Linked DNA regions of Homo sapiens: all the other regions are linked to region 1. Evidence: promoter capture Hi-C in 16 types of primary human blood cells and fetal thymus (Javierre and others, 2016). All regions are on one chromosome and are shown on one strand. Each heading gives the region's core, a stretch centred on a gene start or on the middle of the fragment in contact. The rest is flanking DNA. Distances are from core to core; before and after follow the strand shown.

Region 1 (4,959 bases), core at 1,809-4,308:
GGAAAGCCTGTCTCTGTGTCCCAGAGTGGCTGGGACGCTGCTTGTGTGTGGGTCCCCTGCAGAACTTCCCCTAGTGTCCCCTGCTGTGCTTGCATGGCTCACTGTTGTACCTTCAGCATCTAGCACAGTGCTGGGCACACAGTAGGTGCTCAGGAAATGGCAGTTGAATGTATGAGTGACTGAGTGAATGAATGAATGAATGAATGGGGCCAGGAGTGGTGGCTCACACTTGTAATCCTAGCACATCAGAAGGCTGAGATGGGAGGACCCCTAGAGGCCAGGAGTTCTAGACCAGCCTGGGCAACATAGTGAGACCCCCATCTCTACAAAAAAAGAGAAAAATCAGGTAGGTACGATGGCATATGCCTGTAGTCCCAGCTGCTTAAGAGGCTAAAAGTGGGAGGATCGCTTGAATCTAGGAGGTAGCAGTTGCAGTGAGCTATGAATGCACCACTGCACTCCAGCCTGGACAAGACCCCATCTCTGGAAAAAAAAAAAAAAAGGACTGAATGAGTGAGTGTCTGTCTCTAGGGACAGACGTTTACCCAATAGACCCTGGGCAGGGCCCGGGTAGCTTCTCCTTGGCCAGTTGGCAATGTGCTGCTGTTTCCTGGCCTGAGTTTAATGAGGACTAAGCAGGACCCCAAGAGGTTCAAGGAGGAATTCTCCAAATGGCCCCTGCTCCTCCTGAGGCAGCTCTTAAAAATCAAAACCATTAGCTCACACAATGATTAAAAGATCAAAGCCAGCTGCTCTGCCCAGAGATGAGGCTGGGGCAGACGCAGGTTACGGGCAGCACCTGGCAGCCAGCAGCCTGGGAGAGCCACTGTGGGCGGGGGCCCCACCTGTCACCAGGAAGCTTCTGCTTCAAGGAACCTGAGGGCAGTGCATGGGAGAGCCCTTCTTGGAAAGACCTGAGTTCCCCTTCCAGGACAGTGACTCAGTCCTTTGTCATCTGGGCTTTCTTTCCTGTTCAGAGGATTCTCCAGGTTTGCCCAGGGTTCCTTGGTCACAGCACTTGTAGGGGAGGGAAGAATCAGTTTGTGCCTCACCCTGATGGTTACAACGCTGACCGGCTTGCCGTGTGCAGGTGAAGACCAATTAGAAGACCTGGGAATTCCCACTCCTGCGCCCACCAAACTCCCCCACCGGCAGCCAGCAGCACCTCCATGCACCTGACTTCACACCTGGCTTCACCTTGTCTCGCAGAGTTTTTTGTTTTTTGGTTTTGAGATGGAATTTCGTTCTTGTTGCCTGGTCTGCGGCTGCAGTGGTGTGATCTCGGCTCACTGCAACCTCCACCTCCTGGGTTCAAGCAATTCTCTTGCCTCAGTCTCTCAAGTAGCTGAGATTACAGGCACGCACCACTACACCCGGCTGATTTTTGTATTTTTAGTAGAGACAGGGTTTCCCTTTTTGGCCAGGCTGGTGTCAAACTCCTGACCTTGGGTGATCCCCGCAACTCAGCCTCCCAAAGTGCTGGGATTGCAGGCGTGAGCCACTGCGCCTGGCCGCAGTTTTGATTCTGGAAGGCTGACCTTAGGGAGCCACTGCCTCGGCTCCACACACCCCAGAGGAGATGGGGGTCAGAGGTGTGGATGCAGGACAAGCACTGGCCCTGGGCTGGCCTCGACTGCTGAGTCCCAGGCTACTGTGTCTGAAAATGGGAAATTGTAAAATGGAGCAGGTGTAGGCAACAATTTGGTCACAAAAGGAAAATCAACTGGGGAGGAAGACAAGAAAAGCCAGCGAGGGCTGAGTCCGGAACCTGCGTCAGCACCCGTGAGTCCCCGAAGAGGAAGCTCCACAGGACCTCCGCGGTCAGCCCGGCTCCTGGGCCACACCCTGACATTAGCCCTCCCGGGGCACACTCTGTGTTGGTTTTTTAAAATTCTGATGGCTGATTTCCTGGGTTTGAGCTCCTAGCCCTGCCAACTACTAGCTGTGTGACCTCCCCTCCGGCTTCAGGTTCCTCTTCTGTGAAATGGAGACAGTAATAACTACTTCAAAGATTGTGGTGAGGATTAAAAACAAAACAAACACATCCCCCAAACCGCAAAACCACACTTCACCTACAGTCCACAGCGCTTAGTGGAGACCCTAGAGAACAGCAATTACTCGATACACTATTGGCTTTCATTGCAACTCTTCCAGGAATAAAATGAATGAAATGTTAGTTGAGGAAAGGATGCAACAAGGGGGAACAAAGGCACACATGTATCTCATCAAAGCAAACCGCTTTGTTCTCGATATGACTGTGACATGGGTGTTCAGACGCTAACACCAGCGTTCGCCAGCTGTGTTACCCTGAGAGTGTCATTTCACCTCTCAGGGCCTCAGTTATCTATAAAATGGGAATGACATGGCACTTGTCCCTGCAGGCCATCAGGAAATGCTTGGAAAGCATGTTTCGAGGTGCCTGGGGCACAGTCAGCTGTCAAAGGGGGATGGCTATGCTGTCCCTTTCTATTTTTTTTTTTTTTTTCTGAGATGGAATCTCACTCTGTCACCCAGTCTGGAGTGCAATGGCGACATCTCAGCTCACTACAACTTCCACCTCCCGGGTTCAAGCGATTCTCCAGCCTCAGCATCCCGAGTAGCTGGGATCACAGGCATGCGCCACCATGCCCGGTTAATTTTTGTAATTTTAGTAGAGATGGGGTTTCGCCATGTTGGCCAGGCTAGTGTCAAACTCCTGAGCTTAAACAGTCCACCTACCTCGCCTCCCAAAGTGCTGGGATTACAGGCGTGAGCCACCACGCCCAGCTGGTCTACTATTCTTTAGGATACTGCTATTGTCATCATGATCTGGACCAAGCGAAACAGGAGGAAAGAGAAGTAGAAATCTCACCCCGGGAGCTACCGCTGGTCCTTGGAAGGAAGAAGTACTGTACCTTCTCTGCCCGGGTCAGCAGGAGCCTGGGCCATGCTGACAGCAGCTGCAAGGAGTCGGAGAGACTTGGCAGGTGTGCAGGCTTCTGCACTGTGGCCCTGAGAGGGTGGGCTAGGTCGAGGCTGGGGCTTCTGAAGTGGCCGAGCCTGGTGCTTCTTGCAGCTCTGAACCCACAAGGGGAGGGATGCCAGCTTCCACTGGGCAGGTGTCAGCTGCTTACAGCCCGGAAATAGATGCCTAGCCAGGCCGGCCAGATTCGGTTTCAGGAGAAAAAGAAAATGAAACTTCTCTGTTCGTCTTTTGAAAGAAAAAAAAAGTGGAAGCCAGGTGGATGAGCAAGACAGAGTTGGGGACCTGACTTGATGTTGACAGGGAGGAGCTGTAAACTTGGCAAGACCAGAGCGTCCTCCGAAGAGGCCTTTGAGACAGAGGACTTCCCTCACCTTCCCCGTTCCAGGCACAGCCCACCTGGACCTCTACATTTTTATTTTCTGAATCAGCATCAGAGAACTGAAGAAAATAAAAATAAAAAAAAGAGCATGCACCACGTGGAGGGGGATGCCAGGGCGTGGCATCACTCTGATGATGTGAGGGGCTGGGGCTGGTTATCTGGTTTCTGTGTTTTTGTTTGTTTTTGAGACAGGGTTTCTGTCATCCAGGCTGGAGTGCAGTGGCGTGATCACGGCTCACGGCAGCCTCGACCTTCCGGACTCCAGCGATCCTCCCACCTCTCAGCCTCCCTAGTAGCTGGGACCACAGGCCTAGACCACCATGCCCGGCTAATTTTTGTATTTTCTGTAGAGATGGGGTTTCATCGTGTTGCCCAGGCTGGTCTCAAACTCCTGGGCTCAAGCGATCTGCCTGCCTTGGCCTCCCACAGTGCTGGGATTCCAGCCGCAAGCCCCCACGCCCGGCCCCGCTGGTTCCTGTAGTACTTCCTCCTCGGGGACTCACAGGTGCTACAGAGGCACCGTCCCCAGCTCTCAGTGGCTTTTCTTGTCTTCTTCCAGTTTGTTTCCCTTGCCCACACTAGGGGCAGAACATTTAGGTGCGTGAAGGCCCTGAGATTGTTCTTGTGTGTATCCATGTGAGCCTCTTTAATGAACACCTATTATGCGTTTTCCAATCTCAAGTGCTCCTCCAACCCATCTACAGGGTAGGGGCCAGTTCTGTCTTCTTCTCAGGGGGGAAACTGAGGCTAGAAAGGCAAGATCACTTGTCCAAGGCCACACAGAGTCCATGACAGAGCTTGTCCTGTCCATTCCCCAATTGTGTTTCCTGATCTATAACACCCAGAAGTCACTGGTGAATCACCCTTAGTGCACAGATGGCGTGGAGTTCCCCGCCTCATCATAAAACTTGCTTATTAATTCCAGAGTCAGATGCCTGGGGTCAGCAGCCGAGTGGTTCGGAATGCAAGCCTGGGTCAGCATGCTTGGGTCCAAACCTGGCTCCGCCATTTACCGGCTGTGTGACCTCGGACAAATTATTTAACCCCTCTGTGCCTCAGTTTCCCCATGTGTAAAAGGACTTAATCAAAGGACCTAGCGCATGGGGTCGAGGTGAGGACCTAAGGGGCTGATACAGCCCAGCTGTCGGGCTAGAGCCCCAGAGCCATCCGTAGTCACGGGCACCGTGGTCACCTCACAGGAATGCTTCTGGGAGAGGACCCGTTGCTTACATAATTCTCAAAAGGGCCAGTGACCTCAGAAAAACTCAGAGCCACTGTTCTCTTCCAGATCACAGAAGGAGGAACTGAGGCCCACAGAGGTGAATGCTGTGTACAAGGCCCCCCAGCTTTTGGCAGCCAAGGGGGTTGAGAGCTCAGCCCTGGAAGTCCCTGGACTTGGGGTCTGTGTCTCATCTGCAGAGGGCTGGGAGGGCTAGAGACGTCTGTGCTCCTTGCAGACCCCATTTATGCATAAGGAGCAGCTTAGCGGCAAATACAAATGGAAAGGGGGTCCGGAGGTTTATCCTGAAGCTATCTGTCTTTGCAGAGCGAGCACCTGGAGCCCAGGTCTTCCGCCCTGCCTGCATGTTAAGTGTTTGAAGCAAAAAAAAAGTCT
Region 2 (4,959 bases), core at 807-3,306, 500 kb after region 1:
GGGACAATATTTGAGGTAGTAATAGCCAAGAACTTTCCAAAATTAATGGCATTTATCAAACTACAGGCCCAGGAGGTTCAGAGAACACCAAAAAGTTACATCTAAGCATATCATATGCAAACTGCAGAAAACCAGAGATGAAGAGAAAATTTTGAAAGAAGGCAGAGATGGGGAAAACCTTACCTCTAGAGGAAGAAGGATAGAATTGTAAGCAGACTTCTCATCAGAAACTATGCAAGGAAGAATAGTCAAGTGAAATATTTAAAGTGTTGAATGGGGAAAAGACAACTTAGACTTCCATATCCAGCTAAAATATCCTTCAAAAGTGAAGGAGAAATAAAGACTTTTGTAAATAAAAACTGAGGGAATGTGTTGCTCTCAGACCTGCTCTGCAAGAAATTTTCTTTAGTCAGAAGAAAAATGACAGATGTCAGAAAGCTGGATATACGTTTTTAAAAAAATCATCAGAGAAGACAAATGAAAATAAAATCTTTTATTTTTCTTATTCTTCATTAATCTAAACAATAACAGATTGTTTAAAGTAATAATATCTTAGTCTGCCTAGGCTACCATGACAAAATACCACAAACTGGGTGTCTTAAACAACAGAAATTTATTTTCTTGCAGTTCTGGAGACTTGAAAGCCCAGCATCAAGTTCCAGCTGACTCATTTTCTGGTAAGGACTCTTCTTATTCTTACTAGGAAATGCCAGAAGCAGGAAGCTTCTTGTCCTCACATGGCCTGACCTTGGTGCATTCATGTGGAGAGAGAGAAAGGAGAGGAGCTTTCTGGAATTTCTTCTTGTAAGGACACCAGTCCTATCAGATCAGAGACCCATCTTTATGACCTTATTTAAGCTGAATTGCCTCCTTCTAGGCCCTACCTACCTAAAAACACAATCACAATGGCGGTTAGGGTTCCAACATATGAATTTGAGGGGACACAATTCAATAGCAAATAATAACATTGTGTTGGGGGATTATAGCATATGGATAAGTGAAATGAATGAAAACAATGCCACAAGAGATAGGAGGAAGGAATTAGGAATATTCTGATATGAAATAGCTGCATTACACATGAAGTGTAAATGTATTATTTTAAGACGGACTTAAATTAGTTAAAAATGTATATAGCAAACTCTACGGCAACCACTAAAAACTGTTTTTAAAGAAGCATAGTTAATACACTAAGTGAGGAGATAAAATGGAATCATATGAAAGGCTAAATTAAAACCAGAGAGGCAGAAAACATTGCTTCTGGCAACAAATAGAAAGCAGTTACAAACATGGTTGATATTAATCAATGTATGTATCAATAAGCACTTTAAATGTGAATGGTCTAATTACACCAATTAAAAGGCAGAGATTGTCAGAATGAATAAAAAACAAGACTCAACTACACATTGTCTATCGGAAACAAAGTTTAAATATAAAGACTCTGATAAGTTAAGAGTAAGGAAGTAGAGAAAAATATACCGTGCAAACCAAGAAAGCCAGAGCAGCTATAATAATTTTAGACAAAGTAGACTTCAGAAGATGGAAAATTATCAGGGATTAAAAATGAATATTATATAATCATAAAGGGGTCAATTCTCCAAGAAGATATGATAATCCTAAATATGCAACTAGCAACAGAGCTTCAAAATACGTGAGTCAAAAACAGATAGAAGTGAAAGTAGTCACAGACAAATCCACTGTTATAGCTAGAGATTTCAACACTGTCATGTCAGTTATTGATAGCTCAAGCAGGAGGAAAATCAATAATGATGTAGTTGACATAAATAGCACTATCAGTCAACTTGATCTGATTGACATATACAGAATACTCCATCCAACAAAAGCCAAATACACATTCTTCTCAAGCTTACATGGAACATGCACCAAGATAGAAAATTTTCTTGCCCATAACACACCTTAAAAAGCTTAAAAGAACATAAATCATATAAAATATGCTTCCACAATGAAATTAAACTGCAAATCCATACTAGAAAGATAGCTTGAAAATTCCCCAAATGTTTGGAACACATGTCAAAGAAGTCTCAAGATAAATTAAGAAATATTTTGAACTAAGTGAAAATGAAAGTACAACCTATCTAAATTTGTGAGATGCAGCAAAGGTAGTGCTTAGAGGAAAAATTATAGCATTACATGTAGATTTTAGAAAAGAAAAAAGATTTGAAATTGATAACCCAAGCTTACATCATAGGAAATTATAGGAAGAATTTAAGCAAATTAGGCCTAAAGCAAGCAGAGGAAAAGAAATAACAAAAATTAGGGCAAAAGTCTATGAAAATTTAAACAGAAAAGCAACAGAGAAAAGCAGTGAAACCAAAAGCTGGTTCTTTGAAAAGATGAACAAAATTGATAGATTTCTAGCCTAGCTAATCAAGAAAAAAGAGAGAGACACACACACACACACAAATTGCCAACATTAGAAATGAAACAAGGGTCATCACTACTGATCCCACGGACATTGAAAAGATGTTAAAGGAATACTACAAACAACTCTATGTCAGTGCCCCTCATTTTAATCATTTAGATGAAATAACCAATTGATGGAAAGACATGGACTACCAAAATTCCCACAAGTAGAAGGAGACCAGCTAAATAGCCCAATATCTATCTAATTAATTGAATCAATAGTTAATAACCTTCTTAAAATGTAATCACCAGGAGCAGATGACTTTACCGATGAGTCTTACCAAACATTTAAGGAAAAAAAATAAAAATTCTCTATGCTCTCATTTAGAAAACAGAATCATCATGCCCGTAATCCCAGTGCTTTGGAAAGCCAAGGTGGGAGGACTGCTTGAGGCCAGGAGTTTGAGACAGCCTGGGTAAGAGAGGGAGACCCCATCTGTACCAAAAAAAAAAAAAAAAAAAATTTCAATTTAAAAAAATAGAGTAGAAATCAGAGAAAACACTTCTTGATTCATTCTATAAGTCCAGAATTACCCTGACATCAAAACCATAGAAAGATATTACAAAAAGTAAAGATGCACACCAATCTATCTGATGAATATAGATTAGAATCTTCAATAAAAGTGTCTTTGTTCACAAATGACATAATTATTGATGTATAAAAACTCCAAAAACTGTGCACAAACATTAGAAAATTGAATCCAACAATGTATTTTTAAAATTATGCCCCAGGTCCAAGTGGAATTTATTCCAGATATTCAAGGCTGGTTCAACACTCAAATATCAATTAATGTAATCCACCACCATGACTGGCAAAAGGGGAACAATTATGTAATATAATCAAATGATCCAGAAAAGCATTTGACAATATCCAATGTCCATGATAAAGTTTCTCAGCAAACTAAGAATAGAGGAAAACTTTGTCAACTTAATAAAAAAACAGGCTGGGCATGGTGGCTCATGCCTGTAATCCCACTGCTTTGAGAGGCTGAGGCAAGAGGATCCCTTGAGGCAAGGAGTTCAAGACCACCTTCAGCAACATAGCAAGACCCCATCTCTACAAAAAGTAAAAAAACAGTTAGCAGGGTGTGGTAGCACAGGCCTGTAGTCCTAGCTACTCAGGAGGCTGAGGCAGGAAGGTCACTTTGAGACCAGAAGCTTGAGGTTACAGTGAGCTATGATATTGCCACTGTACTCCAGGCTGGGCAATAGAGTCAGACCCTATCTCAGAAAAGAAGAAGAAGAAAGCAGAGTAAAGAGAAGAAGGAGGAGAAGGAGGACGAGGAGGACGAGGAGGAAAGAAAGAAGAAGAACATTTACAAAAACCTACACCTAATATTATACTTAATGAGGAGAAACAGATGCTTTTCCCTTAAGGTTGGCAATAAGACTGAGATGTCCCCTCTCACCACTCTTATTCACCTTTATGCCAGAAGTCCTAGGTAGAGCAATAAGACAGGAAAAGGGAATAAAAGATATACCGATTGGGAAGGAAAAAATAAAACTGACTTTGTTCATGGATGACATGATTGTCTATGTAGAAAATACAAAAACATGGTTGGGTGCAGTGGCTCACGCCTGTAATCCCAGCACTTTGGGAGGCCGATGCATGTGGATCACAAGGTCAGGAGATTGAGACCATCCTGGCCAACATAGTGAAACCCCATCTGTTCTAAAAATACAACAATTAGCTGGGTGTGGTGGCATGTGCCTGTAATCCCAGCACACTCAGGAGGCTGAGGCAGGAGAATCGCTTGAACCAGGGAGTCGGAAGTTGCAGTGAGCCAAGATTGTGCCACTGCACTCCAGCCTGGTGACAGAGCGAGACTCTGCCTCAAAAAAAAAAAAAAAAAGTTTACCAAAAAATGCATAGAATTAATTAGTGATGATATCAAGTTTGCATGATACAATATAAATAGATAAAAGTTGTTTTCCTATATGCCACCAACAATAAAGAGTTAGACTTTAGTAATTAAAAACACACTACCATCTACAACAGCATCAAAAAATCTTTAAAAAGTTAAACTCATAGAGAGTGGAATGATGGCTACCAGAGTCTGGGAGGTGAGGAGGGAGGGAATGGGGAGTTGTTAATCAAAGGGTACAAAGTTTCGGCTAGACAGGAGGAATAAGTTTTGAGATCTACTGCACAGCAGAATGACTATTGTCAATAATAATGTATATCTTATAACTTAGGAAGTAGACTTCGAATGTCTTACCTTAAAAGTGATAGGTAAGTGAGGTGATGAATATGTTAATTAGCTTGATTTAATCATTCCACATTGTATCGTATAAATGTATACAATTATAATTTGTCAATTAAAAATAAAATAAATAAATAAAAATGAAAAGATCAGAAGAATTTTTTAAATAGCACCAAAAAAGTGGAATACTTAGGTATAAGTCAAATAAAATATGTACAGGTCCCGTATGTGGAACTAAAAATCAAACACCTAAGTAAATGGACAGATAGTCCATATTCATGGATTGAAAGACTCAATATTGTTAAGATGTCAATTTTTCTGAATTTTTTCCTAC
Region 3 (4,959 bases), core at 1,322-3,821, 470 kb after region 1:
AATCACACTGGGGATGAGGTGTCAGCAAATGAACTGGAGAGTGAGAACACAAATGTTCAGTCTGTAGCGGCCACCATGGCCTCTGCTCGCTCTGCTCCAGCCACCTGGCTTTCCCTCCCTTCCTGGAACACACCAACTTCACTCCGACCACTATTCCCTCTGCCTGGACTTCTCCAGGAAGAGCTTTGCGTGACGAGCTACTCTGCCTCCTCCAAAACTCAGCCCAGGAGCCCCCTCGTGAACGCCTTCGCCAGCTGAAGTTGTCTTGTTTTTTAATTTATCTGATTTTGTCAGCTTTCTCCTGGACTCCCTGCCCTCAACAAGAATGTAAGGTCTTTCAGGGCAGGGATTCCACGAACCTGCTTTCTCAGGGCCTAGAACGTGGCTTGAAACACAGAAAGTGCTCAATAAATGCTCAACATGTCAATGACTATTCACATGGGAAAACATGCAAGAAATCTGACTTAAGAAGAAACCTACAATATGCCAGTTACATTTAAATTTCAGATAAACAAATATTTTTAGTATGAGTATCTGCCATACGTATACTAAATATTTGGGACATCCTTATACTAAAAAAAAAATTGTTGATCTGAAATTGAAGCTTAACTTGGCATCCTGGGTTTTACCTCTGACAACTCTAATCTAATAGAACCATCCATTTTATGCTAAAGAGGAAGTCTCAAAGCTGGCTGGGAAGCTTCAGAGAAAGATCGAGCCCTGGGCTGCACCAGAGGGACTGATCCAATCTTTGGGTTCGAATTTCTCTGCCTGTGATTCTAATCATTCGCTGAGTTTGGGGATCGTGACGCTGAATCCTCAGAACATACCCAACCAGGGCTAGCACCAGCTCTGAGGAGTAGGGGACTCCCTGCCGATGGGGGAGATGTTCCCACACTGGGGGTGTTTGGGGAGCTCTGGCTATCAGGGAAAACCATGGTCCTCTCTTCTCTCAACAGGGCACAGCTGCTTCAGCCTCATCCAGCCTCGCCTGTCCCAACGTTGTTCCATAGAGTGTAAAAAGCAGCCCAGCAGTGTGAAAAACAGCCCCCAAACTCCCAGGAGTGTGAAAAGCAGCCCCCAGACTCCCAGGACTGTGAAAAGCAGCCCCAAAAGGCCGTATCCATATCCTAACCCCTGCAGCTGTGAATGACAGCTGATTTGGAAGTAGGCTTTTTGGAGATGTGAACAACTCTTTGGAGAAGTCCTTTGGATTTAGGGTGTTCTTATAAGAAAAGGGAGATTTGAAACACAGACACAGAGAGAAGAAGGCCATGTGAAGATGCAGAGATTGGCCACCAGCCACTGGGAGAGAGGTGCGGAGAAAACTCTGCCTCTGAGGCTTGAGAGAATTGACCCTGCCAATGCCTTGATTTCTAGCTTCCAGGTTTCAGGACCGTGCGAGAATAAATTCTGTTGTTTAAGTCACCCAGCAACCCTGGGAAACAAACACCTCAACTGGATTAGAAGCAAACTGAGGACACTAACTCCTGCCTTTTTATAAACCACCCTCTCCCAAGCACCTAACATTCTCCAGGGGATGCAGGAAGAGCTGAATAAAGGCCTAAAGGTGAACTGAGTCAAGCTAAGTTCCAGTTTCCATAACACCCCGAGACCTCAGGATTGGGCAAAAGAAAGGCAATGTCACCACCTTGGTGACCTGGCTCACAGCAGGATTTGCTGGAAATTAATCACTCAGGATCAGGGAATGATGCCCATGAAGCTAAGGTACCAGGAGGGAGTGGCGTTGTGGCGAGTGCCACTGCCTGCCTCTCCCGTGAAAGGAAGACTCGGTGAAGTAAGAGGCACTGGGCAGCCTGCTCGGGTGAACAGGTGAGCATCGGCCTGGGGAAGGGCCTGCAGCTGGGGGTGGGGGTGGTGAGCTCAAGTTCTGGCAAGGCTGTGCCAACATGGTACTGGGCAAGTTAGAAGGACACGGTGGCCCTCTCACCACCATGGGTACATGGACAGCAGGCTCCTCTCTTTAGAATTGAGGATGGAGAGGAAGCCAGAGCTCAGCAGGCCCATGGAGAGCAGGGGAGGTAAGACGTGGAGTCAACGCCCCTTTCTGGCTGCCCCTTTCTGGCAAAATCGCCTCCAAGCAGGAGGTGACGGCTGAGCCCATTTGTCGGACAACTCAGAAATGGTTTATTTGTACACGGCCTTCAAATGTGCATCCCAATGCCAGATGCACCCAAATGATCATCATTCCTTGCTAGTGGGGGCTCTCAAACTTGACCTTGCATCCACATCACGGACTCGCCCAGAGGACTTGTTAAAACACGGATGGCCGAGGCCTAACCCCAGAGCTTCTGATCCAGCAGGTTTGGATGGTACCTAGATGGTCTCCATTTTTTTTCTTTTTTTTTTGTTAGTTTTTATTTTTATTTTAAGTTTCAGGGTACATGTGCAGGATGTGCAGGTTTGTTACATAGGTAAACGTGTGCCACGGTGGTTTGCCGCACCTATCAACCCACCACCTAGGTATTAAGCCCCGCATGCATTAGCTATTTTTTTCTAATGCTCTCCCTCCCCAAACCCTACCTTCCAACAGGCCCCAGTGTGTGTTGTTCCCCTCCCTGTGTCCACGTGTTCTCATTGATCAGCTCCCACTTATGAGTAAGAACATGCAGTATTTGGTTTTCTGTTCCTGTGTTAGTGTGCTGAGGACAGTGGCATCCAGCTTCATCCGTGTGCCTGCAAAGGACATGATCTCATTCCTTTTTATGGTTGTATAGTATTCTATGGCATGTATGTACCACATTTTCATTATCCAGTTTATCATTTGGATTGATTCCATGTCTTTGCTATTGCGAATAGTGCTGCAGTAAACATACGTGTGAATGTATCTTTATAATAGAATGATTTATATTCCTTTGGGTATATACCCAATAATGGGATTGCTGGGTCAAATGGTATTTCCTGTTCTAGATCTTTGAGGCATCGCCACACTGCCTTTTGCAATAGTTGAGCTAATTTACCTTCTCACCAACAGTGTAAAAGCTATTTCTCCGCAACCTCCAGCATCTGTTGTTTCTTGACTTTTTAATAATCACCATGCTGACTGGCATGAGGTGGGACCTCACTGGGTTTTGATTTGCATTTCTCTAATGGAGATCTCCATTTCTAGCAGGCTCCCAGGTGGGGCCGCTGCTGCCACTGTGGGGACCACACTTTGAGCAGCCGGTATAGGGATTTTGACTGAGCCTCAGGCCGCAGTGAGGCCACATTTGCCCTGCGTGAGCTGCTGCTCGGGAAGACGGGGGCTTCATACCTCAGTGAGGTGTCCCTCACTCCACAAACCTTGGCTGGACAATTGCTACGTGCCAGAAACTGCTCTGCCCTGGGGATGTGGAGATGAGTGGGGCGTCCTTGTGCATCCCCGCTCCCCAGCCACAGCCTAGAAGGGGCTCCCTGTGACTACTCCTGTCCCTCTCAGATCACTCTTGGAGTTGTAGCCAGGGTGATCTTTGAAAACACCAAATCCTGCCACATCACCTGTCCCACTACCCTCAGCCTAGGAGCTGGGAACTGACCAGTTCCCCCTGTGCTATAAATGAGAGCACGTCGCTCAAATTCCAGTTATTTCCTCCAATTACGTCCTCCCCCAACACCTCTGATGTCTTGCCAGGACTCTGAGGGGCTGACAGGCAGCAGAGGAGGTGGGAGGCCCAAGGGCAGTGGGGAGCAGAGGCCCTGGATCTAAGGTGACCTCATTTCAGCACTGAGTCCTCACCCAGGATTCCCCTGGGAAAACTGAGACTCTTGGCCACCCTACCTGGTTGCTCCTACTTCCTGAGTGATTTGGCCTCAGCTTCATGGCCGATAAACAAGAACAGAGAGGGGCATATGGGAGCATTTACACACGTGTTCTGGAGCCAGGTCCAAGCTGTGGGACCAGGATGAGCTGCCTGGCTTTTCTGTGTCTCGGTTTCTTCACCTGCAGAATGGGCATGACAATAGTTCCTGCCTCAGAGGAGTGCTTTAAGAATCCAATGATAAAATGTATGAAAAAATGCTTTAAACTGTATATGGCAGGTGGTGCATTGGCTACTATAAAATTAATTATTTCTTTAAACATGCATCTAAAATGGCTCAAGCCCTCATTTTTCTAGTAATGAGAATGAAGGGCATTTAAAGTCATTTCAGTTGAATCCAAAAAGAACCTCTGCTAATATACTGCTTACAACAAACACTCTTAGAATCAAATACCATGCCCACCAAAGACTGAATATACCGAGGTTTGCAAAAAAGATATGTAAAGATACATGCATGTGTAGTGTGTTGGGAGGGGTGGGGGAGAACTCAAAGAAGCAGCCGTGAAAAAAATGACTGGAAATACTAAGCAATCGAATTCAAGATATAAACATTACAAAGAGGCTTATTTCACATTTACATACACAAGAGCTAGCTAGTATTCACAATGATGGTATAATAGCCATGAAGCTTTATGCATTAAGTAATACAGTGCTAAAATATGTAAAGCAAATTGTCTGAAATGTCATTAAGCTTAAGTATTTCTTCCTGAAGAAACCCTTCCAGGATCCCTCAAGGGCTCTACAGGGGACTCCACTTGTCTTATCACAACATTTATGGTTAGTATTTGTCATCATTCGCTTAACTACCTCTCCACCGCCCTCACTAGAATTGAAGCCCTGAAAGCCTCAGTCTGTCTTGTTTATTTGTTGTGTGCTCTACAACCCATGTGCATGCAATAAATATTTGTTGACTGCATGACAATTAGATATATATTCAACTCTATATCCCTGAAACAGAAAACACACTTTTTTTTTCAAATATTCATGGATGTTTACAAAAATCCATCATATACATTTGGTCAAAGGAAAATTTTAATAAATGTCTAAATGAAGAAATTGTATAGAGAATGTAACATTCTCTGACCTTATAGCAAAAGAATAAACAAAAAAAACCCAACAAAAATCTCCAACCTGCTGAAAT
Region 4 (4,959 bases), core at 1,369-3,868, 430 kb after region 1:
AGACCAGGAAAGCTGTTTGACACCTACACAATGAGGAGCAAGAAATTCAGACCTTCCTCCTCCTGAGGCCCCATTTCCTTCCCTCTGGGGTTGTTGTGAAGATGGGATTCGATCATGAATATAACATTCACTGCCGTGAGTGGAACAGTTATTGAAATTGTCTACCAGTAGCTTTAACTAGCAGCATTAATACTACTATTAATCACGGAAGCCAGCCTTTATTAAGCACTTACTGTATTCCAGGCACTGTTCTGAGTGCTTTCCAGAGAGTAATGCATTTCACCCTCACCACTCTGGAAGGGAGGTGCAATAATTATCCTTGTCTCATAGATGAGGAAACTGAGACACACAGGGGAGAAGTCACTTTCCCAGAGTCACATAGCCGCCAGACCACAGAGCCAAGCCAGCCTGACCCAGCACGTGCTGCAGAAGCTGCTGCTGGATTTTGTCTGCACAAAAGCCCCATGGGCAGATAGGATTCATCTTACTTCGTGCCTCAGTGGCTGAATCTATAAAACGAAACTGAATGACTTGGCCAAAGTCACCCCAGCTCAGAGGTGGCAGAGATAGGATGGGAATCCAGGCCTTGACTCCTCCTGCAGTGCCCAACCCCCACCACACATGACTTCTCTCACACCTTGTACACTGCAGGTATTTGGCCAGTACCTGGGAGACATTTCTGATTTTTTTTCCACGGCATGTCCATTTTGATCACATTTTCTTCTACATGTGGGAACAAAACTAGACACAACTTTGCTGAAAGTCTGAGCTAGCCTTACTTTTACCTGCAGCTGAGAAAGTTAGCTTCTTCCCTCACCAAGGCTAAAAGGGCAAGAGATGACACACCCAGCAAGAAAACCGAAAATAACAAAATCAGTCAATGTGGAACAAACATTACTCCCCGGCAACTGGGGCCAGGTATTTATGCTGCGATGAGACAAAGGCAGACTCTTTCTCCTTAGATTTTAGCACTTGCTTCCAAAACAGCAGAGGGCCCTGCAGGGGAACCAGCGGAGGATGGATGGCATCTGGCATTGATTGGTAGCCAGGCTGAATAATACATCAAGGGTCTGTGACTTCATCACAAAAGCCTGGCGGGCTGGCCTCCTGCAAACCAGACTCCCCAGGGACTGGGCCTCACCAGGTGTCTTCAATTAGAAATACAGTGGGAGCAATGCTTCTGAACCGATTCTGAAAGGCAGGCTCCCGGGCTGAGAGACGGAGTGAAGGGACATGCTCAAGGTTCCTTCCCCTCCATGCCTCATAGTGGGCCCTGCCCTGGGGATAAGCCTCCTACAGCCCCTCGTGAGCTCCATCCACTGCCAAAGATGAGTCAAATAGCAAGATAAGGCTGCCTCCTTTTTTTTTTTTTTTTTGAGACAGAGTCTTGCTCTGTCGCCCAGGCTGGAGTGGAGTGGTGCAATCTCGGCTCACTGCAAGCCCCGCCTCCCGGGTTCATGCCATTCTCCTGCCTCAGCCTCCCAAATAGCTGGGACTACAGGCGCCAGCCAACACGCCTGGCTTTTTTTTTTTTTTGTATTTTTAGTAGAGACGGGGTTTCACCATGTTAGCCGGGATGGTCTCCATCTCCTGACCTCATGATCCACTCGCCTCAGCCTCCCAAAGTGCTGGGATTACAGGCGTGAGCCACCGCGCCTGGCTAATTTTTTTTTTTTTTTTGTATTTTCAGTAGAGATGGGGTTTCACCGTGTTAGCCAGGATGGTCTCGATCTCCAAGATAAGGCTGCCTCCTAAGCCTCGCATCTGTTGTCTGTAAGAGAGCCACGGCTGTGCAGGAAGGAGGGATGAGGCGGTGGAGTCCTGGGTGTCAGGTCCTGTACTACAGGCCGAGCACAGGGAGAGGAGCAAGCTTTCCTCCTTCCCCTCCTTTCTTTCTCCCTTGAACATTTGCTGAAGTGTCACCTATGTTCCAGATGTTGTGCTAGGAAGCAAAATACAGCACCAAACAAGATAAGCATGGTCACTGCCCTGCTCCCAAGGAAGGATGCTTTGGAAGGCCTTTCACTGAATATCTGTCCTCACCTACTCTGTGCCACTCACAGGCTTGGTTGAGGATCAAACTCTTTTTGCAGAAGAGGAAAGGGAGACTCCAAGAGGGGCAATGCTCTGTCCCTAGATCTGTGACCTTGGGCAAGTGGTAGTTTGGACTGAGCATTCCTAAGCTATATCCAGGGCACCCCATGCTTCCTGGCCTCATGTTTAGCTCCTTGTGAGAGGGTCAGGTCGCCCACTAGCAGATGAACTCCTTGCTCATCCTTGTGTTCCAAGCAGAAACTAACACAAAACCAGACAACCTGGAATGAAGACAAGAAACCCTTGGCCTGCTGGGTCATGAAGCTATTTCTGGCTGCTGTCCATGGTACTGGCAAGAAGCATGAAGCCTGCCAATGTCAGGTGGTTAGAGCCCTCTTGGGAAGCTAAAAGATTCTTATCGTCCAATTCATGCTTTTCACAGCCTCCTTGGTTTTTCACTGGGTCTTTCCAACAAGTCTTACCTGTCTCCTCTCTCAACTCCCGGTGAGCTTTTCTGTTGGCCAGTGGATGCCTTGTATTAGATGTTTGTCTTTTTTTTTTTTTTCTGGTCTCCTGTTATTTTCCCAAGTCATTCTTAACCTTGGAAGCAGAGAACACTCACAACCAGCTGTACTTGGTGTTGCATATTAAATAATCTTTGTTTTGATTCATGTGTTAAAGTCCTTTATCCATTCTCTTGCATTACAGAGACCCCAGTCTTAACACATATTTCTTACATCATGTTTCCCAAATGTCAGTCACCCACATACCTCCCACATGATTTTTGCCATACTCTTACACCACCTATCATTCTATGCCAAATATATTTCCTAAAATCAACCCTTTTAAAAGTTTTAGTAGGTCTTATTTTTTAGAGCAGTTTTAGATTTACAGAAAAACCGAACAGAAAGTACAGAGAGTTCTCATATACCTCCTCCCTGCACACATTTTCCCTATTATTAACATCTTGCATTTGTTTGGTACATGTGGTACACTTGATGAACCAAGACTAATACATTATCATTAACTAATGCCTACAGTTTTCTTGAAGGTTCACTCTGTGTTGTACCGTTCTATGGGTTAACAAATTCATGTCATATATCCATCATTACAGTATCTTACAGAATAGTTTCACCACCCTAAAAATGCTCTCTGTTCACTCATTCATTCCTACCCCCTACCCTTGAACCCCTGGCAACCACTAATATTTTTATTGTCTCCATAGTTTTGCCTTCCCAGAATGTCATAGAGTCAGAATCACATAGTATGTAGCCTTTTCAGACTGGCTTCCTCCACTCACTTTTTTAAAACATACATACATTTATTTAAAAGGGAAGCTTGATATAATCATCAAAAATGGATATTCAGATTCATTTACCATGAATAAAAGGAAATCATAGAAGTAGCAGCAGGAATGGAAACTTCTCTATTCCATGAAACTCATGACAAAAACTGGCAAAAATTCCGGAATCAACTTTTTCAGAATTCTGGAAATTAACCAAAGGCTTGAAGCAATCTAGATTGCATGCATTCAGGAAGAAAGGCTGAATTTCAGTAAGAACAGGGAGCTTCATGGCATTTTAACTTTCCGTATTTCCATCCCCTTCTCTTCTGCTCTGAGTTAGCCTTGAAATCAGGTTGAAATCAGCCCTGCAATCAGGGTAAAAACCGGTGGCCTGACAGCTACTGTAGGGGACAAAACAAGATTGTAGCCCCTTCAAACCTCATTCCCAGAGAACTGTTACGACTTGACTTGTCTGGTGGGTCCCTGGAGAACTCTACTTGCAAGGTTGTCTTGCCTTCTGACCAAGATCAGTGGTTGCCAGAGGTTCAAAGGTAGGGGGTAGGAATGAATGAAGAGCATTCTTAGGGTCGTGAAACTATTGTGTAAGATACTGTAATGATGAATAACTGACATGTATTTGCCAACCCATAGCAAGTAAACTGTAGGTCTTACTTGAATTTTGCCCACTTTGAAAAGTCTAAGCATTTGCTGAAAACAATTAAAAGTAACTGCTTAGCTTTCTGACTGCCTAAGATGGTGAGCAACAGTTGGGAAAAGTGTGGGCTAACCAAAAAATTTAAAAAGAAAAAACTGGCAAATAAGATGTCCGTAGGGGCTTTGCAAAGTTCCAACATATTCCTGAGAATCTAGAAAGCCCCGTGCATGTGTAGGGCTGTAGGCATGCTCAGGAGAGACTTGAGAAGGCTCTGTGCTCTCAATTCTGTATGACCTGAGGGTCTACGCAAGTAGAAAGTGAAAGTTAGGGCAGAGTTGCCAATTTCCTGACCAAGTATTGAAAGTATGCCCAGCATGCACACAGAGTACTGTGGCAAAAATTGGGAGACTTATTAGTCCAGGCATTTGAGGAAATGTCTGTCCACTCTTGAGCTCCCCAGTAAGCTAACTGAGCAGACATTTCAGTGGCCACCCATGAAAAACAATGTAACACACCATATTATAGAATTAAGGGGGAAAATCACCTGATCTTTTCAGTAGATACAGAAAACGTATCTGATAAAATTGAGACAAAATACTCCTGTCAAGACAAAAATACTTGTCAAGACAAAAATACTCAACACACTTTAAATAGTAGGAAACTTCTTCAACTGGATAAAGGGCACCTATGAAAAAGTCTAAGCTAATATGATACTTAATCGTGAAAGACTGGGTGCTTTCCCCATAAGATCAGGAACAAGACAAGGATGTCTACTTTTGCCATTGCAATTGTACTGGAGGTTCTAGCAAGCAATTAGACCAAAAAAATGAAATAAAAGGCATCTATAAGGAAAGAAGTAAAGCCACCTCTATTTGAAGATGACATGATCTTGCATATATAAAATCCTAAGAATTTTGCCAATAAACTATGAGAGTTCATGAACAAGTTCAGAAAGATTATAAGGTACAAGATCAATATACAAAAA
Region 5 (4,959 bases), core at 1,191-3,690, 380 kb after region 1:
CCTGAAGGCCCCCACGCCCTCTCATCCCATTTTGCAAAAGAGGAGATCGAGGCTCCAGCAGGTGAAGAGAGTTGCTGGGCTAGCATGTGGCTGCAGTCCAGGTCTGTCTGACACATGAGCCAATAACCGTCACCAGGAGACCCCACTGCCTCTCACTGCTTAAAAAGGTCCCCCCTGGCAGGCCACAGACCACCCCCAACTTTTGTGGAGGGGAGAAAATACTACTGAACATCAGGTGAGAGCAAGTTTCCCAACCTCTTTGTGCCTCACCTTTTCCCTCTGCAGAATAGGAATAATTATTCTACCATCTCGATAGCATTTTTGGATGACTTGGTAATTTAATGTACATTAAGGACCCAGATGCTAATTGTGAGTAGACAAATGCCATTTATTAGACTTATCGTAATGAAGACAGTAAGGTTTCATTGTTAAAATATCAGCCGTGAAACACATCAGAACGAGTTCAGCCCTGGATTCACCTCTTTACCAATCTTGGGATGTTTCTAAACCTCTCTGAGCCTCCATTTGTTCATCCATAAAATGGGAACCTCATGGAGCCTCCCTCTCGCAATTGTCCGGCGTGGAATGGAGTAGCACAGGTGAGCACTCAAGTGCAGGCTATTTGTATTTCAACAGGCAGAGAGGATTGGGGTGAGAGCCAGTGGCCTCTCTCGGGGCCCCTGAATCCTGGCCACACAGAGTGGGCCTCTCCTCCGCAACCCCCCTCCACCCGACCAACAATGGAGCTGTCACAAGCCCACATCTGCTGCTGGGTAGAGATTTTTCTCTCAGGATTCCTGGAGGGGCCCTTCCAAGGGCCACAGCCCTTCTTGTTTATATGCCGAGAACAATGAAGACCTAGAAGCCAAGTTTGCAACTGGGTCTGGAGGAAAATGGTTGTCTCTCCAATAAATCCACGTGCATCATTGTTAATGACCCTGGACCACACAGCCCACCCACAGGGCCTGCCCATTAGAGGTCAGACAATGGCTAATGAGATTGCCATCCCTGATTAAGCCAGGAGGCAATGCTTCTTTAATTCTACACACAGCCAGGAGGCAGGGCCTCAGCCTCTCTCTTACTGGGACTTCCCATTTCCTCTTACCAGTTCTGCCATCCATGGCTTTCTGGATTCACCAAAACTTCAGGTTCCTCAAGGGACACAGATGTGTCAAGTGCATTTTCTGGCTTGAGGGACTGTGTGTTTCATAGACATCTTTCCAGTTTCATAGCCATTTTGCCCAGGAGTGTCATCAGCTGAGATTCAAGATTCATTGATGCTTGGCTGAGAAATCCCTGGGAGATAAGAAAGTCAGGTTCACACTGGATGCATGGAACTGGAAGCACACTGCAGAGGGGAATGTGAGTGCTATTTGCAGTCCCTCTTCTGGGCCAAAATTTGGCTTAGGGCTTCCCCTACCCTCCCTCGGCCTCTATAGCCTGTGAGATAGATATTAGCACCTCCTTTTGCCAAGGAAGAAATCATGGCTCTGAGAAATGACATGGTGCACGCAAGGTCACACAGCAAGCAAGTGGAGTGGAGGGCGTGAGTCCATCTGTCTATATGCCAAGCTTGTGTTTTTTCCCACTACACATGATTTGTTCACATTCGGCTCATACCAGTGCTTGAAGCCCACTGCAGAACCAAGCCCCAGGACTCACATGTGGCTTCCTTAATGCCCATGTGGCAGTTCCAGTGCCGTCAAATCCCTCTAACCCGAAGCAGTTAAAACTGATGATTTAATGACCCACTGGTACATCCACTTACTAATCTTTGTGAGCACACCAAGGTGTTTTTATTTCTGCTGTTTGGAGTTGCATAGTAATCTTTTACATAAACCACACCCATTTTTACAGTCACCAGCATTTATAGTTTCCAATCCTTTAAAGTGAAGTAAAAATTAAAGGGCACTTACAAAGATATCTGAATGCAGAATCCTTCATTGTTTGTGTATTTTTTCATCTTTACAGTAGTTTCTTCCTCACTGCATTGTTCAGCATATTTTTTAGGAACTCATATTTTTCAAGTCATTCCACAGCATTTGACTTATTTTTCACAGAAGCAACTATTCTCTTGCTTTCACACTCATAGTTTTTTAGTTTATATAGTAAGTAATTCAGTTGAATTTTGAAATTAAAGTTACAAATATAACTGGCATTAGAAGGCATGGGAACAATCCACAGACTCTTGTTAATCAAATGACTCATTGAATGAAGGCAGATGTGGGAGAGCTCACTGAGGTGTCACTGACCAGCCTCCAACTTTCAGAGCACTGTGGGCGGCCACAGAATGTTTACAGTGGCAGGGGAGAGCACTGGTTAGTGGCTCAGTGATGTGAAGACAGGTGAAGAAAGCTTCTATTCTACTATCTCAATGGTGGTAACAGTAGCAGTGGTGACTGCAGTGATTTCTCAGTATTTAGTGTGAGTGCCACGTATTACTATCCATCCTCACTACAATGCCTAGAAATTACTGTATTTGCAGTCTAAAGATTAGCTAGTATATAAGTCACTCAATTTTACCAGGAAGCTTTTCTGAAAGATATTATCTACTACCCCAGACTAGCCAAGTCTTCTTGGAGAACTGCCAAGTAGCCAGGAAGACTGGTTTGGAGATGCCTCTTCTTTCTGCTGTTCTTGAAGCTTGCACAGTTTCTTACCCAAGGGGAGCAGGGGAGGAAAGGGACAAGTTGCTGAGAGTTATTCCATCCATTGGTTTATGGTGGACTTGATGGTGTCACACAAGGAGGCATCTGAGAAACAGAAAATGAATCTTCTATACTGGCAAATACAAGATTTTCCCCTCTGTTTTAAGATGAGGAAGCAGACTCAGAAGTGAAGTGACTTGGCCAAGGTCACATAGCCTGTAACTGGAAAAGCTGAGATTTCAACTTAGGTCTATTTAACTCCAAATCCCATGTGCTTTCCATTGAACAACTGTTGCCATTGAGCTGGGTTGGGCTGAGTTGAGTTAGTTTGAGTTGAGGTGAGTTGGGTTGGGCTGGCTAGAATTGGGTTGGCTTGATTTGGGTGGGTTGGTTGGAGTGGGTTGGGTTGAGCTGAATTGACTTGGTTTAAGTTGAGGTGAGTTGGGTTGGGTTGGCTAGAGTTGAGTTGGTTTGAGTTGGGTAGGGCTGGGTTGGATTAGGTTGGGTTGGGTTAAGTTGGTTTGAGGTGGGGAGGGTTGGGCTGGGTGGGTTAGGTTAGGTTGAGTTTGCATGGGTTGCATTGGTAGCACTGAATCACACTAAGCCCTTTGCTGTGTAGTCTTGGTCCCAAAACAGAGGGCGAAAAAATGTCTCTTTTATAGTCTTTCAGCAACCTGAGGGCAGAAAGGGGGATCAATACAAAAGAAACAGACAGGAATCATATATGATTCATTGTTGAATTCTGGTGGGATTGCCCAAGTAAATCATGCCCTGGGCAAACCAGCAGAGTAAAAGGCACCTTACAGAGCTGTGTGTGGGGAGGGGGCCCTTCTGTCACATTGCCCAGAAGATATGGATCCAACTATCCTCATGGTCAGAGATCACAGAGGCCCCAGCCCAGTTCTAATCCCTTCATGTGAAAATCACGTGACACAGCCCCAAGCCTAGCAGAGGTTCCTGGAGAACAGCGTCTCCTTGAGCACCGGCTGGGTACTCCATGCTGCTCGCCTCCTCTCTCTGTCTCTAAACCCACGTCAGCTCTCTTCAGGAGGTATGGTCACCATCTTTTTACACACAGAGAAGTTGAGATAAAAATAACTTGCTCAAGTTTACACAGCTAATCATGGCCGGAAGCTGGGTTTAGCTCTAGGTTTGTAGGACCCTGGGAGGTTGGGTTCTTTCCACTTCTTCACATGGCCTTTCAACAGGACAGAAATCAGCACAAGCCTGTCATCCTGGAGGAGCTTTAAGCAGAATGTGTGTCTTCCATGGGGGCAGCTGGAAGGGCTTCCGGGTAGGGCTCAGGAAGAAGTATCATAGCCTGGGGGAGACCTGTAGAGTAAGGAAACTTCCTGCCCCACAACAGTCAGAGACAAGAAGTGATGACAACCAGGGGCTGTTGATGGTGTTCCCCTACCCTCTACCCATCTGACTTCTAAGCCTCAGTTTTTCCAACACATTCTGTAAAAGGGGGTTTTTAACTCAGTTCATTCAACAGGCATTTGTGGAGTGACTACAGTGTGCCAGGCATCAGACTAGGTGGAGAGAAGTTGGAGGCTTGGTCCTGGTGGTGTGGCACGTGGCTGGGACTGGGGGTCTACGCCCTCCTCCTGCCACTTCCAAGCCAGGGGGCCCCGGAAATGTCCATTTACCTCATTGAGGTTCAATTTCTGCCCATGGAATATGGGGAGAATAATAATAATACCTGGGGCTCAGGTCAGCTGTAAGGACTGAACACGGTGTGTGGGGAGCACTTAGCGCAGCCACCAGGGCGTGGACCACCTCGGGCAGGATTGTGCTGGCTTTTATGCAAAGGCAGAAAGTGCCGCTGAGCCTGGAAGAAAATGAAAAGAACAGTGGCTCACATTTCTTGGCCCACTCCTTCTCAAATACCACATTCTGCATAAAAATATCCTTCAAAAGTCACGGCCAAACCCCCACGGCGGTGGGAATGCCCTCCCTGTGGAGGGAAAGCCACCTCCGACAGCGAGTGTCGTTTCAGATGCAGCTGGCACAGAGAACAGGCGGATGGAGGAGTGACAACGTGCACAGCCGACTGTCAGGGCGGCCTCGGCAGGGAGTGTCTGGGTGCTCGCCGATTCCTTCAATGCTTCTGTATTTTTGAAAATTTTCATAATAAAACGCTAGGGGAAGTGGAAATGCAGCCAGTCCCAACCCTGCAGGAGAGGGTGGTTCCAAGCACCATTTCCTCATTTCTTTGAGTCTCTTAAAAACCTTTTCCTCATAACCCCACAGCTTATAAACGTTTGAACAATTATGACTGTCAGGTGCACAAACAAGCCCCTCACAC

What was found. Contacts are between HindIII fragments. The CHiCAGO score rates a contact against its expected background, and 5 or more counts as called.
Region 2: a fragment that was not itself captured here is called in contact with the fragment with the promoter of ZBP1 in region 1 in 1 of 17 cell types (endothelial precursors); the score reaches 8.7 in endothelial precursors.
Region 3: a fragment that was not itself captured here is called in contact with the fragment with the promoter of ZBP1 in region 1 in 4 of 17 cell types (endothelial precursors, megakaryocytes, M1 macrophages and 1 more); the score reaches 12.3 in endothelial precursors.
Region 4: a contact is called between a fragment that was not itself captured here and the fragment with the promoter of ZBP1 in region 1, in 2 of 17 cell types (M2 macrophages and endothelial precursors). The highest score is 5.1, in M2 macrophages.
Region 5: a fragment that was not itself captured here is called in contact with the fragment with the promoter of ZBP1 in region 1 in 1 of 17 cell types (M1 macrophages); the score reaches 6.0 in M1 macrophages.

Annotation. Positions count from the first base shown.
Region 1 is chr20:57,617,368-57,622,326 of GRCh38, forward strand. ZBP1 (Z-DNA binding protein 1) reads right to left here and starts at 3,059. Exons shown (of 8, transcript NM_030776.3): 1 at 2,895-3,059. The coding sequence starts at 2,928. RefSeq lists enhancers at 612-1,471, 1,649-1,758, 2,839-2,888, 3,019-3,308. The HindIII fragment of the contact is 9,795 bases long and covers 858-4,959 here.
Region 2 is chr20:58,117,440-58,122,398 of GRCh38, forward strand. No RefSeq gene overlaps it. Among named protein-coding and RNA genes, the nearest start is that of CIMIP1, 31 kb to the right of the region's middle. The HindIII fragment of the contact is 272 bases long and covers 1,921-2,192 here.
Region 3 is chr20:58,091,102-58,096,060 of GRCh38, forward strand. No RefSeq gene overlaps it. Among named protein-coding and RNA genes, the nearest start is that of CIMIP1, 57 kb to the right of the region's middle. The HindIII fragment of the contact is 3,746 bases long and covers 699-4,444 here.
Region 4 is chr20:58,045,931-58,050,889 of GRCh38, forward strand. No RefSeq gene overlaps it. Among named protein-coding and RNA genes, the nearest start is that of LINC01742, 45 kb to the left of the region's middle. RefSeq lists a silencer at 2,203-2,497. The HindIII fragment of the contact is 1,501 bases long and covers 1,869-3,369 here.
Region 5 is chr20:57,994,877-57,999,835 of GRCh38, forward strand. LOC105372693 (a long non-coding RNA gene) reads right to left here and starts at 4,686. Exons shown (of 6, transcript XR_007067678.1): 1 at 4,354-4,686; 2 at 1,106-1,296. The HindIII fragment of the contact is 175 bases long and covers 2,354-2,528 here.